3 separate regions of the Homo sapiens genome follow, and regions 2 and 3 are each linked to region 1. The links are contacts of gene promoters, found by promoter capture Hi-C in blood cells and fetal thymus (Javierre and others, 2016). All regions are on one chromosome and are shown on one strand. Each heading gives the region's core, a stretch centred on a gene start or on the middle of the fragment in contact. The rest is flanking DNA. Distances are from core to core; before and after follow the strand shown. Region 1 holds the start of APEX2 (apurinic/apyrimidinic endodeoxyribonuclease 2). Region 2 has its middle 42 kb from the start of FAM156A. Region 3 holds the start of ZXDB (zinc finger X-linked duplicated B).

Region 1 (3,808 bases), core at 456-2,955:
TGTGTTCACCTTGCCCCAAAGGTCAGAACTAATATTAACAAGCCACTGCAGAATGGGGAAATTAAAACCAGCCATGGAGACAGGCAAGTTCTGGATTTCGCTGGTGCTGAGTTTCAGATCGATCTTCAGTGTAAATGGGCATAATCCCTTACTGGAAAGCAATCTGGCAATATGAAGCAAGAGCAATAAAAATGTTCATTTCCTTTGTCCTAGTTATCGCACTCATGGGAGTCAATCCTGAGTCAATAACTCCCAAAGCATGAAGAAGCTCAGGACATGCAAATTTTTATTTTAATCACAGAGCTATTTTCTGATAGCAACAACTGGTAACCTTTTAAGTCCTCCAGGAGGAAAAGCAGTTTACTGCGTCTTTGCTGTAACCATTGAGGATGATGGCTCTAAGACTTAAATTCTGGGGAACAAATAATTATGCTGCAATTCTGGGTGAGGAACCTAAAGATGCATCGTTATGCTTTTCCCTGGACATTGGGCATATCCATTACTTCTAATTTTTGTGCTCTCAAAAACAAGCCATGAACCTGTCGATGCTCTTGCTATTATCCTTTGTTCATTCATTCACCTGACAAATATCTATTGCTTCCCAACATATGCTGTGTCCAGTATTAGGGGATGGGGCTAACAAGATGAACCAGACATGGTCATTGCTCTCAAGTTGCTGGCATTCTAATGGCAGCAGAAATAGAAGTCAATGATAGCTGTGTATTATAAGTACTGTGACAGAATGGACCATAGGGTGCCGTGGGGCCCCAGAGGAAAAGACTTAACTGGGGAGGTGTGTGGTCAGTAAAAACACTCAGAAAAGTAATTATTGAGCTAATTAAGACAGGGTGTGAATCCTGGCTCTACTACTTCAGTGTAAGAGAGAGTGAACTGTGAGAATGAAATGAATTCATTCGACGTCTCTAACTTAGCCTCCATGTCCCGAACTGGGTTGTCTTGAGAATGAAATGAGATAACATATACAGAAGAGCCATGGATGCATCCGGAGACAATGCTGCTCACGAGCTTACATTTCCTGGGCTTCGATTTCACTTATCTGAGAAACAGAACCAAGAGTAAGGATGTGTCCGGCTACATCCTTCAGAATGTTAAGAGCCAAGACAAAAGCTACAGGGCAGGCTTGAGACAGCCTCCTCCTCCTCCCCTCTGCCCCAATAAAGCCAAAGGCCCTCCTCCTAAGTCTTATCTCAGTGGAGCGACTCTTACTGCTCCCTCCTCCAACCATGAACTTCCCTTTGCCCAGTCCAACGCGAGCACTTAGCGCCAGCTATTCCTGGGGCGCAAGCGCTGCAGCCATCTGTGAACTTAGGTGGGCGGTCCGCCGCACTGAGGGCGGGGCTTTGGCAGCTGAGCAGTTCCGCTCAGGGTTCCGTCGCTTAAAAAGTGGCAAAATGCCGTTTGTAAGTAACCGGACGCACCACTTGGACTTCTGAGTAGAGGAAAAACGCATTGAGACTCAGCTGTCCGAGCGGAAGGAGCGGGAGCCCAACTGGAAACTCCTCTCGCCATTCATTGCCCCTAGGCTTCCGCTTTGCTTCCTTCAGCGTCCACCCAGTTCCTCCTCCCGCCAATGAGAGCTGAGGAAGTTGAAGCCCCCGCCCGACGTGCGTCAGGCGCTTTAGTGGTACGCACGAGAACGCCTGCGCAAACGCGCGCGGGAGGCGGGCCTGGCCAACTTCTGAACAGGAAGCAGTTCGCTCGCGCCTAGGTTGGCGCGGGCTGGGAGGTGTTCCAGCCCTTTAAGATGTTGCGCGTGGTGAGCTGGAACATCAATGGGATTCGGAGACCCCTGCAAGGGGTGGCAAATCAGGAACCCAGCAACTGTGCCGCCGTGGCCGTGGGGCGCATTTTGGACGAGCTGGATGCGGATATCGTCTGTCTCCAGGAAACCAAAGTGACCAGTGAGCGCTCTGGATTCCAGGATCCCTACATACTTTTTCTTTCCCGCTAACTTTTGTCCCCTGTCCCATGTAATTTTACTTTCCCAGTTTCCTATTCTTAGAGTCCTGTCCTTAGACCCAGGTCCCTTCCCTCTTAAACTTCCATTTCCCACCCTAGCTAGATCCCCTAATTGCACTCCATCTCCTGTCTTCAGCAAACTTTAGCTCCTTCTCGAAACCCCATATCTAGTCAGATTCCCACTCATTCTCCGGCCCCAAACTCAGTCCCCTGAATTTCCTCCTTCCATACGCTGTCCATCTCCCCGCCGCCAAGTCAAACCCCCGAATTCTTCATCCCTGCCCCAAGCTCAGATCCTCTAATTCCCACCCCATCTTTGACCCCAGCTCAGTCTAATTTCCTCTTTTTCACATTTCCACCTCAGAACCCCAGTACCCCTTATCTATTCCCATCTCTCCTCCCAGCGGAAAGTCCCTAATTCCCACCTCATTTCCCACCCCAAGCTTAGATGTCCTCTTATTTCTTCACCCTCTTATCTCCCCTCAGAATCCCCTAATTCCTTTTCCCTCCACCCCCAGTTCAGATCCCCTAATTCCCTCTCTCTTACCTCTCACCCTTAGCTCAGATTCCCACCATCCTCTCGTATGTCCATCCCCATCCCCAGCTTCCTCCTATCGTTCAGACCCCCAGGCTTAGCTCTGATTCTTTCCCCTTCCCACCTAATTCTCCACCTCCACTTCATAGTCTCTAACCGCCCCCCACCAAGCCTTCTAATTCTGATATCAATTTCCTCTCTGACATTTCCCATCTTTCTAGGTCCTCCTCTAATCATGGATATTTCATTCCCGTCACCCCCAACTCTGGCTCTGATGTGTGCAAGGAATTAGCCTACAACTGTAATTCCAGGCCTTTGTGTTTCTCGGATGCTAGTTTTACCTCTGACTTAATCTTACATTTTTTTTTTCCAGGGGATGCACTGACAGAGCCCCTGGCTATCGTTGAGGGTTATAACTCCTATTTCAGCTTCAGCCGCAACCGTAGCGGCTATTCTGGTAAATGGGGCTTTCTGTGGACTTTAAATTAGTGAGGGAGGCAGATAGGGGAAAAGGGTTTCCAATATTTGATGAGAGGGTAATAAGAAATCTTAGACATTTAGTTTACAGAGCTAAAGCTGCATAATAGTAAATTACATGAAATATAATTTTTATGGATAGAATTATCCTACTGGACCTCAGAAGTACAGTAGTAGTGTGGTGCTTAATTGTGTGAACTGTGGAGCCAGACAGCCTGGGTTTGAATCATGGCTCATTTCCTAGCTGTGCACCCTCTGGCAAGTTACATTACCTCTTGGTGCCTCAGGTTCCTCAGCTAGAAAATGAGGATAATGTTTACCTTCCGGGGCTGTTACAAGGATTAAATGAATTAATCCATGTGATAATAATAATTGCTAATACGTCTTGAGCACTCACCATGTATCAATGTAAAACACTTAGAACATTCTGTGGCTTTTTTAGATGTAGGAACTGAGACTCCAGGGTTTGAATAAGGTTGCCCAAGAACCACACTTTATGAAGATGACTTAGATGACTTGTGTGGGGACAATTGGAGTGGGACAGGCTGTGCAACAGGCTATTGACTGCCAGGTCTGCTCAGAGTGCCCTGTCTGTTCCCAGGTGTAGCCACCTTCTGTAAGGACAATGCTACCCCAGTGGCTGCTGAAGAAGGCCTGAGTGGCCTGTTTGCCACCCAGAATGGGGATGTTGGTTGCTATGGAAACATGGATGAGTTTACCCAAGAGGAACTCCGGGCTCTGGATAGTGAGGGCAGGGCCCTCCTCACACAGCATAAGATCCGGTAATAGCTCATATCTCCCTGCTACTGAGCACTG
Region 2 (3,923 bases), core at 95-2,594, 2.0 Mb before region 1:
ATTTCCCCACTCTTTACCTCATGCCACCACTTCCACAGGTAACGTGAGGATTGCATTCTCAACATCCATTACCAAGCAGGGTGTGCGACAGAGAGACAGAGAGGCAGACCTCCCACCAGTGAGTCAGTGATGGGGCCCTTGAGGCCCTGGGCAAACCTCTTCCTTTCCCCTTTCCTTGTCATCTCCCATTGACCCCGGCTGTGCCTGAGCCTTTCCCTGTCTCCTCCAGTGAGTCCAAGTTACAGCCAGTTCCTCCCTCTTCATGAGGACTGTGTGAGCACAGGCCCTACCCTCACTTGGCTTCAGCCTCCTCATCTGCAAATGGTGAGCTCCTCATTGGCAATTTGGCAGATTGAGTTAACATGGGTTACATGGGTTTGTCACAGGGGTCGGCCCTGAGCAAGGATGGGGTTAATGTCTGCAGACATTGTCATTAGTATTTGTACCACTGGCTCCTACATGCTACACTGAGGACTTGCCCTCCCTAAGGATAAGGATCCTATGTTTTCATCTCTCTGATACCAGGGCACCTTGTTCTACCCCTGTGAGAGAAAGGACCATCCTGCCTTCCTCACAAAAATATCCTGATATATGAGCAGCTCGGAGACCTAACCTTCTGGACAAAGACCTCCCACAAAAATGTTCAAAGATCTCATGCCTTAGGACAGTGCCCACAAGCAGTTCAGAGACCTCTCACCCTAGACACCAACCACCAAACAGCTCAAAGATGCCACACCTCAGGACACAGACCCCCAACCAGCTCAGAGAATTCCTACCTCAAGGTAACAGCTCACAATAACTCAAGGACCTCACACACCAACCCACAAAGAGCTTACCAGCTACACCCTGGTACACATACCCACAAAGAATCAGCTCAGGGCTGCTGTGTGATGCTGAATCTCTGTGCCATCCAACACTGTTATGGGGAGGCCTTGGATCTTGTAGTTCCCCACAGTCTGCAGTCACCACCGTTGTTGTCATGAGGAAGGCAGGTTCACACCAGGGATGGGGAAGGACCCTCTGGGACTGAGGGGATCAGAGAGTAAGCTCTCATATCTGGCTCCCAGGAATGGCCATCGTCTGACCAACCCTGATCACCTTTGGTCCTGGTGACTTTTGTATCTTGCCCCATGGGGGCTTCAGGGTAAATCCCAGAACACAGTAGGAGACCCCTAGACCCCGTTATCTTTGCCATCTCTCAGCACCCACTGTGGGGAACTGGATCTTGGAGAGAGAGTAGAGGTCCTCCCTTCACACTGCCAATGGCAACCCCCATTATGGCCCTTCTGAGCATTCTGGTCCTTTCTCCCAAACTTCCTCTCCAATTGGCAGCTGCCACACCTCCTCTCTCTCCCCAGCTCCCCACCCTTGTGAGCCACCAGGGCTCCCCTTCCACCACGGACCTCTACCTCCCTACCCCAGCCCTAGTCATGGGGCCTCAGTTATACCCTCTCACGCCCACTTCGGTCCTCTCACCCGGCACCTAGGCCTACCTCAGAGGACCCCCTCAGGACCCTCCCTGCACTTCCTGAAAGTGCAGACCATTTTGCAGGACAGATATCTCTCCTGCCCCCACACAGGTTTCTGTCACAACATCCCTGTTAGGGCAGAACTGGAAATGTCTCCCAGATCCAGATGAAACTCCAGACCCAGACTGAGAGTCCAGGGCAATTCGCCTAGGGCTGGAGGGGGCGGGGTGGGATTCCTGAAGGAGGCGCTGGGGTGAGTGTCACCTCAGGAGATGGGAGGACACTGCCCAGCTGGGTCTGTGAGGACAGAGAAGGGACCCTGGGAGGGACAGGGGCAGCATGAGCGCTGGGAGTGTCCCAACTGCGGTCCTCCGGGAATTGTCATCTGGCCCCAGCTCTGCCCCACCCTGGTTGGAGGGCCCCAGCCAGGGATCTGCCTTCTTGGCGCTCCAGTGTCCTCATCAGCGACAGAGGTGACAGGGCTTTCTTCCAAAGGTGCTAGTGGGGATTAAATGAGATGGCACATAAGAAAGAAGTGCTTGGGACACTGCAAGTCAGATCTGTGATGACCTAAAACTTAGAGCCCTGCGCACTGAGCGCCAGATGACCCCTTGCGAGTGGTCTCACTTAAGCCCTGCCTGTGACTTGGGAAGCATCTTTAGCCTCATACTGAACAACAGTCCAAGTCTTGAAGACTGGATCCCACTGGTCATCCAGTCCTTAAAGCCCAGGCTCCGCTTTACGAACTTCCGCCCATCAGCCACTGTGCCTGACCGTGCGCGAGCGCGAAGACCCAGGGACCCGGCTCTACGAGTGCATCCCGCTGTACTCTGTAAGAGCCGCACTCTCTAGGTGAGCTTCCCAGAGCGGTCCTTGATGCCTTCCTGCCTTGATCGTCCCACAACCGATCGACTGCCCCTTTGCAGGTTCCTAATTTATTCAGATCTGTAGAACGGAGACGGGCGTGGCCAAAAATGGGACTAGAGGGGTCTCCGAGAAGTCGGAGAATGGGTGTCAGCTTGGGCCTGGGTGGAAACCAGGAGGACGGATTGCCGCCTGGGGCGCTCGCCGCCGCGCCCGCCCTACTGTCGAAAGGTGGGGCTGATTTCGTTGGTGGGCGGGGGTGGGCTTTATTGTCCCTCCACACACAGCATTTGTATTCTTACAAAATAGAAGCTCCCTTCCCCTATGGTATCTCGCATAATGGTGTGTTCATTTCCGGTACCCGCAATGGTATGTTACATCCTCCACGCCTCATCCCCAGCTGCACACTCACAGGAGGTGAGATCCAAGAGGGGCCAGCTATTTCATACTTAGGTCCTGTGGATTACTCTAATGGTTCTCAAACTTTAGTGTGCATCAAGAATCACCTAGAGAGCTTGTTAAAACACAGATTGCTGGGCCTCACCTTTCAGAGTTTCTGATTCAGTGGGTCTGGGGAGGGGCCCAAGACTTTCATTTCTTTTTTTTCTTCTTCTTCTTTCTTTCTGTTTTTGCTTTTGAGATGGAGTCTCGCTCTGTTGCCCAGGCTGCAGTGCAGTGGCCGAACTCGGCTCACTGCAACCTCCACCTCCCAGGTCAAGTGATTCTCATGCCCCAGCCTCCGGAGTAGCTGAGACTACAGGCGCACACCACCACACCCGGCTAATTTTTGTATTTTTAGTATTTTTAGTAGGGACGGGGTTTTACCATGTTGGCCAGGCTGGTCTAGAACTCCTGACCTCAGGTGATCCGCCCGCCTCAGCCTCCCAAAGTGCTGGGATTACAGGCATGAGCCACTGCACTCGGCCAAGACTGCATTTCTAACTGTGCCCAGCCACTCTTCCACACAGCTAAGTAGACTTTTATTCCCACCTTCCTCCACTGTATTACTAGTAGACCAGCCCTTCCCCATCTTTTTCTCCCTCTCTCCCCAACAACACACCCAGATAAAGTCTTATCACCAGACCCTGAAGATCTTAAAGGGAGCAAAGGTCTAAGCATCGAGTCCACTGCCACAGAGCTCCTGCCCCATGAGTGGTGTGACTATGCCAGTCAACAAACTTTTCTTCTCCTGCACCACTGATGAATAACATCAGAGCAGCATCTATCAAAATGAAAAATCCTTATATGTAAGCCCTTAGAATGTTACATCCATGAGGGCAGGGGCATTTTCCTATCCAGTTTCCTCAGTCTCTCCAGTGCCCACCACACAGCAGGCACTCACTGCATGGTTGTTGAATGGCTGAACTCTTTTTCCCTAGCAATTCCACTTAAAAGAATGTATAATGAAGAAACATACACATAGCACAGAGCTTAGTATACAAGGAAGATAGTAGCAAACAATCAGGGAAAACCTCTAAATGTCCATTCATAGTCAGTGATCACTGGATGGTAAATGAACAATGAGAGACTTGTATTATATCAGGGAGCAGTCACTGGCCACGGAACAGAATGAGGGGACCAGACTATACT
Region 3 (4,112 bases), core at 220-2,719, 2.6 Mb after region 1:
GGCTGGCAGTGGTCTATTGCTTGACCTTGGTCCTGGTTACACAGGTGTCTGCTTTTGTAAAATAATCTAAACGATACAAATATGTTTTATGCACTCTTCTATACCTCAGATTTGAAAAATGCTTCCACCAGAAAAAGTAATAGAAAGAAAAGTATGTGGAGTAGACATTTTGATGAGGTTCAAATAGTTATGGATGAATAGCTTGATTTTCAAGAGACCAAGTGTCCACTGTCATTAAAAGAGGGCGAGAGAGCTGGGAGTATTTAAACAACAGGTTACACCCCGCTCCCCCACCACCACCAATCTAGTCATTACTCTAAGCTTTCTTATCTCAGATATTTCACCCTATATTTGTGTCAATTCCCAACTCAGTCGTAACGGACAAAATGAAGGATTGTCATCATCATTAATAAGATCATTAGGCACCACAGGCCCAGCAAGCCTGGGCCACCACACTTAAATGTGAACAGGTACACCAGGTTGATTGGACAAGATCGTCTGTGCCTTTTACTTGGCAGAATCCATTGCAGTGACTCAGGATTTAACCTAAACACATTTAACTGAAACTCCTGCCCAGAGACCTCCACGTGCTGGAGAAGGCAGAGTAAACTGAGGAATGAATGCCCTCATTGTGCTGTGAGAGCAGACATGAAATTTATCACAGTACAACCGATGGTGGAAGGGCAAAAGTTGGTTTAGGTTGTGCACTGTATAGGGAGAAGCCAGGAGAAGGTTGGGTTTTTTCCAGATTTCAGTGTAAATTGTTTCATCCTCCAGACTTTGAATTTCTAGGCTGAAGAGTGCTAACCTGTTTTGGCCGCATCTCTCACTCATTCTAATGTCTGTATCAGCAAGACAAAATTTGAACTATGCGGCAAATTGTACCGAAGACTTTGCTCAAGATAATTGTGAATATGGAAGTTGTCCCGCGGGGAGGTGGGAAGGGGAAGGACATTTTCAGCAGAACTGCCAGCGCTATGGTGGTTTAATGCTGACACAGAGACAGTTTTTTCTCTCAGGAATTGTCTTTCATCCATCAGTCCAGCCAGCCAGCCAGCCAGCAAATTTTAACACACAGAAAGTACGAAGCAACATATCTAACACTGGGAGGGGCTGGGGTGTGTTTATTTGGGTATATACAATGAGTCATGGATTAAAATTGCTTCCAGCGGATAGATACCTAGGTGTTCCACAGCATTACTGAACAAGCTGTCGTCATTTCCCCATTACCTCAGAAGACCCCCTTAATTACTTACTTATATTAACTGTAGAACGTATTTATGCATACCAGGCTCTACCTCTGGGCTTTCTATTCTGTTCCAGAGACCCAGTACCAGAATATTTAAATCACTGTGGCGTTAAATACGTTTTAATATCTGATAGGGCCAGTTTCTGCGCATTGCACATTTTTTTTTCCCCTTTCAGGAACGTGTTCAGGCCCGCGGCAGGGGGCGGGATCGCGCCTCCTCCTCGGCTCTGGTTCCAGCCGAGCCTCTCGGACGCAGAGATGGAAATCCCGAAGCTGCTCCCGGCTCGCGGGACACTACAGGGCGGCGGCGGCGGCGGTATCCCCGCGGGTGGCGGCCGAGTCCACCGAGGCCCTGACTCGCCGGCTGGCCAGGTCCCCACGCGCCGCCTCCTGCTGCTCCGGGGCCCCCAAGATGGCGGGCCCGGGCGGCGGCGCGAGGAGGCCAGCACGGCATCACGGGGCCCTGGCCCAAGCCTGTTGGCGCCGAGGACCGATCAACCTAGCGGCGGCGGCGGCGGCGGCGGCGACGACTTCTTCCTGGTGCTGCTTGACCCGGTGGGTGGCGACGTGGAGACCGCGGGCTCCGGTCAGGCCGCAGGGCCTGTGTTGAGGGAGGAGGCCGAGGAGGGCCCGGGGCTCCAGGGGGGCGAGAGCGGCGCGAATCCCGCGGGGCCCACTGCGCTAGGCCCCCGCTGCCTGTCCGCGGTTCCCACTCCGGCCCCGATCTCCGCCCCCGGCCCCGCCGCGGCCTTCGCGGGCACAGTCACTATCCACAACCAGGACCTGCTGTTGCGCTTTGAGAACGGCGTCCTCACCCTGGCCACGCCCCCACCACACGCCTGGGAGCCAGGGGCCGCTCCTGCCCAGCAGCCCGGGTGTCTGATCGCCCCGCAAGCTGGGTTCCCGCATGCCGCGCACCCGGGTGACTGCCCAGAGCTGCCGCCAGACCTCCTGCTAGCTGAGCCGGCCGAACCCGCGCCAGCTCCGGCGCCTGAGGAGGAGGCGGAGGGCCCGGCCGCCGCCCTGGGCCCCCGCGGACCGCTGGGCTCCGGCCCAGGCGTGGTGCTGTACTTGTGCCCCGAGGCGCAGTGCGGGCAAACCTTCGCCAAGAAGCACCAGCTGAAGGTGCACCTGCTGACGCACAGCAGCAGCCAGGGCCAGAGGCCCTTCAAATGCCCCCTGGGTGGCTGCGGCTGGACCTTCACCACCTCTTACAAGCTCAAGAGGCACCTGCAGTCGCACGACAAACTGCGGCCCTTTGGCTGCCCGGCAGAGGGCTGTGGCAAGAGCTTCACCACAGTGTACAACCTCAAGGCGCACATGAAGGGCCATGAGCAGGAGAACTCATTCAAATGCGAGGTGTGCGAGGAGAGCTTCCCCACGCAGGCCAAACTCAGCGCCCACCAGCGCAGCCACTTCGAACCGGAGAGGCCTTACCAGTGCGCGTTTTCTGGCTGCAAGAAGACATTTATCACAGTGAGTGCTCTGTTTTCCCATAACCGCGCCCATTTCAGGGAACAGGAACTGTTTTCCTGCTCTTTTCCTGGCTGCAGCAAACAATATGACAAGGCTTGTAGGCTGAAAATTCACCTGCGGAGTCACACCGGCGAGAGACCTTTCCTTTGTGACTTTGATGGCTGTGGCTGGAACTTCACTAGCATGTCCAAACTCTTAAGGCACAAAAGAAAGCACGACGATGACCGGAGGTTCATGTGCCCTGTGGAAGGCTGTGGGAAATCTTTCACGAGGGCGGAACATCTGAAAGGCCACAGCATAACCCACCTGGGCACAAAGCCTTTCGTGTGTCCTGTGGCAGGCTGCTGTGCCAGGTTCTCTGCTCGCAGTAGCCTCTACATTCACTCCAAGAAACACCTGCAGGATGTGGACACTTGGAAAAGCCGTTGCCCGATCTCCTCTTGTAATAAACTCTTCACATCCAAGCACAGCATGAAGACGCACATGGTTAAAAGGCATAAGGTGGGCCAGGATCTCTTAGCTCAGCTAGAAGCAGCAAATTCTCTCACACCCAGCAGTGAACTTACCAGCCAGAGACAGAATGATCTCAGTGATGCAGAGATAGTGTCTCTCTTCTCTGATGTACCTGACAGTACTTCTGCTGCATTGCTGGACACAGCATTGGTGAACTCTGGAATCTTGACTATTGATGTGGCTTCTGTGAGCTCGACTCTGGCAGGGCACCTCCCTGCTAATAATAATAATTCCGTAGGGCAGGCTGTGGACCCTCCGTCCTTGATGGCCACCAGCGACCCTCCTCAAAGTCTGGATACCTCTCTCTTTTTTGGAACGGCGGCCACTGGTTTTCAGCAGAGCTCCTTAAATATGGATGAGGTCTCAAGTGTAAGTGTGGGGCCATTGGGATCTCTGGACTCTTTGGCCATGAAAAACTCCAGTCCAGAGCCTCAGGCTTTGACACCCAGCAGTAAGCTAACAGTGGACACAGATGCTCTGACTCCTTCGAGCACCCTTTGTGAAAACAGTGTCTCAGAACTACTGACACCAACCAAAGCGGAGTGGAACGTACATCCTGACTCTGACTTCTTTGGACAGGAGGGAGAAACCCAGTTTGGATTCCCCAATGCAGCAGGAAACCATGGTTCTCAGAAAGAAACAGATCTTATCACTGTGACTGGCAGCTCATTTTTGGTATGAACCAACTCTATTCATTCCTCATCATGTGGCTTACTTTTATTACAGTCAATTTTGAGGATATTCTGGACTAAATATTTAAGTGCAGTCATTTCTTTTTGGTTTGCAAAAAGAGCACAGCCCTGGACTACAAGTTTGGAGATTTAAATTCTGATCTTGAGTTTGGAACTGACAAGTTGTGTGACCCTGAGCAAGT

Evidence for each region. The method cuts DNA at HindIII sites, captures the fragments that hold promoters and counts their contacts. A CHiCAGO score of 5 or more calls a contact.
Region 2: a fragment that was not itself captured here is called in contact with the fragment with the promoter of APEX2 in region 1 in 8 of 17 cell types (fetal thymus, monocytes, total B cells and 5 more); the score reaches 11.0 in fetal thymus.
Region 3: a contact is called between the fragment with the promoter of ZXDB here and the fragment with the promoter of APEX2 in region 1, in 2 of 17 cell types (total B cells and M0 macrophages). The highest score is 9.4, in total B cells.

Annotation. Positions count from the first base shown.
Region 1 is chrX:54,998,658-55,002,465 of GRCh38, forward strand. It overlaps APEX2 (apurinic/apyrimidinic endodeoxyribonuclease 2), which reads left to right and starts at 1,706. Exons shown (of 6, transcript NM_014481.4): 1 at 1,706-1,922; 2 at 2,889-2,972; 3 at 3,594-3,774. The coding sequence starts at 1,766. It also overlaps a transcript of PFKFB1 not described here. RefSeq lists a silencer at 1,587-1,726. The HindIII fragment of the contact is 4,396 bases long and covers 1-2,421 here.
Region 2 is chrX:52,998,326-53,002,248 of GRCh38, forward strand. No RefSeq gene overlaps it. Among named protein-coding and RNA genes, the nearest start is that of FAM156A, 42 kb to the left of the region's middle. The HindIII fragment of the contact is 8,235 bases long and covers 1-3,923 here.
Region 3 is chrX:57,590,542-57,594,653 of GRCh38, forward strand. It overlaps ZXDB (zinc finger X-linked duplicated B), which reads left to right and starts at 1,470. Exons shown (of 1, transcript NM_007157.4): 1 at 1,470-4,112. The coding sequence starts at 1,508. The coding sequence ends at 3,919. RefSeq lists silencers at 1,808-2,097, 2,158-2,347. The HindIII fragment of the contact is 4,972 bases long and covers 320-4,112 here.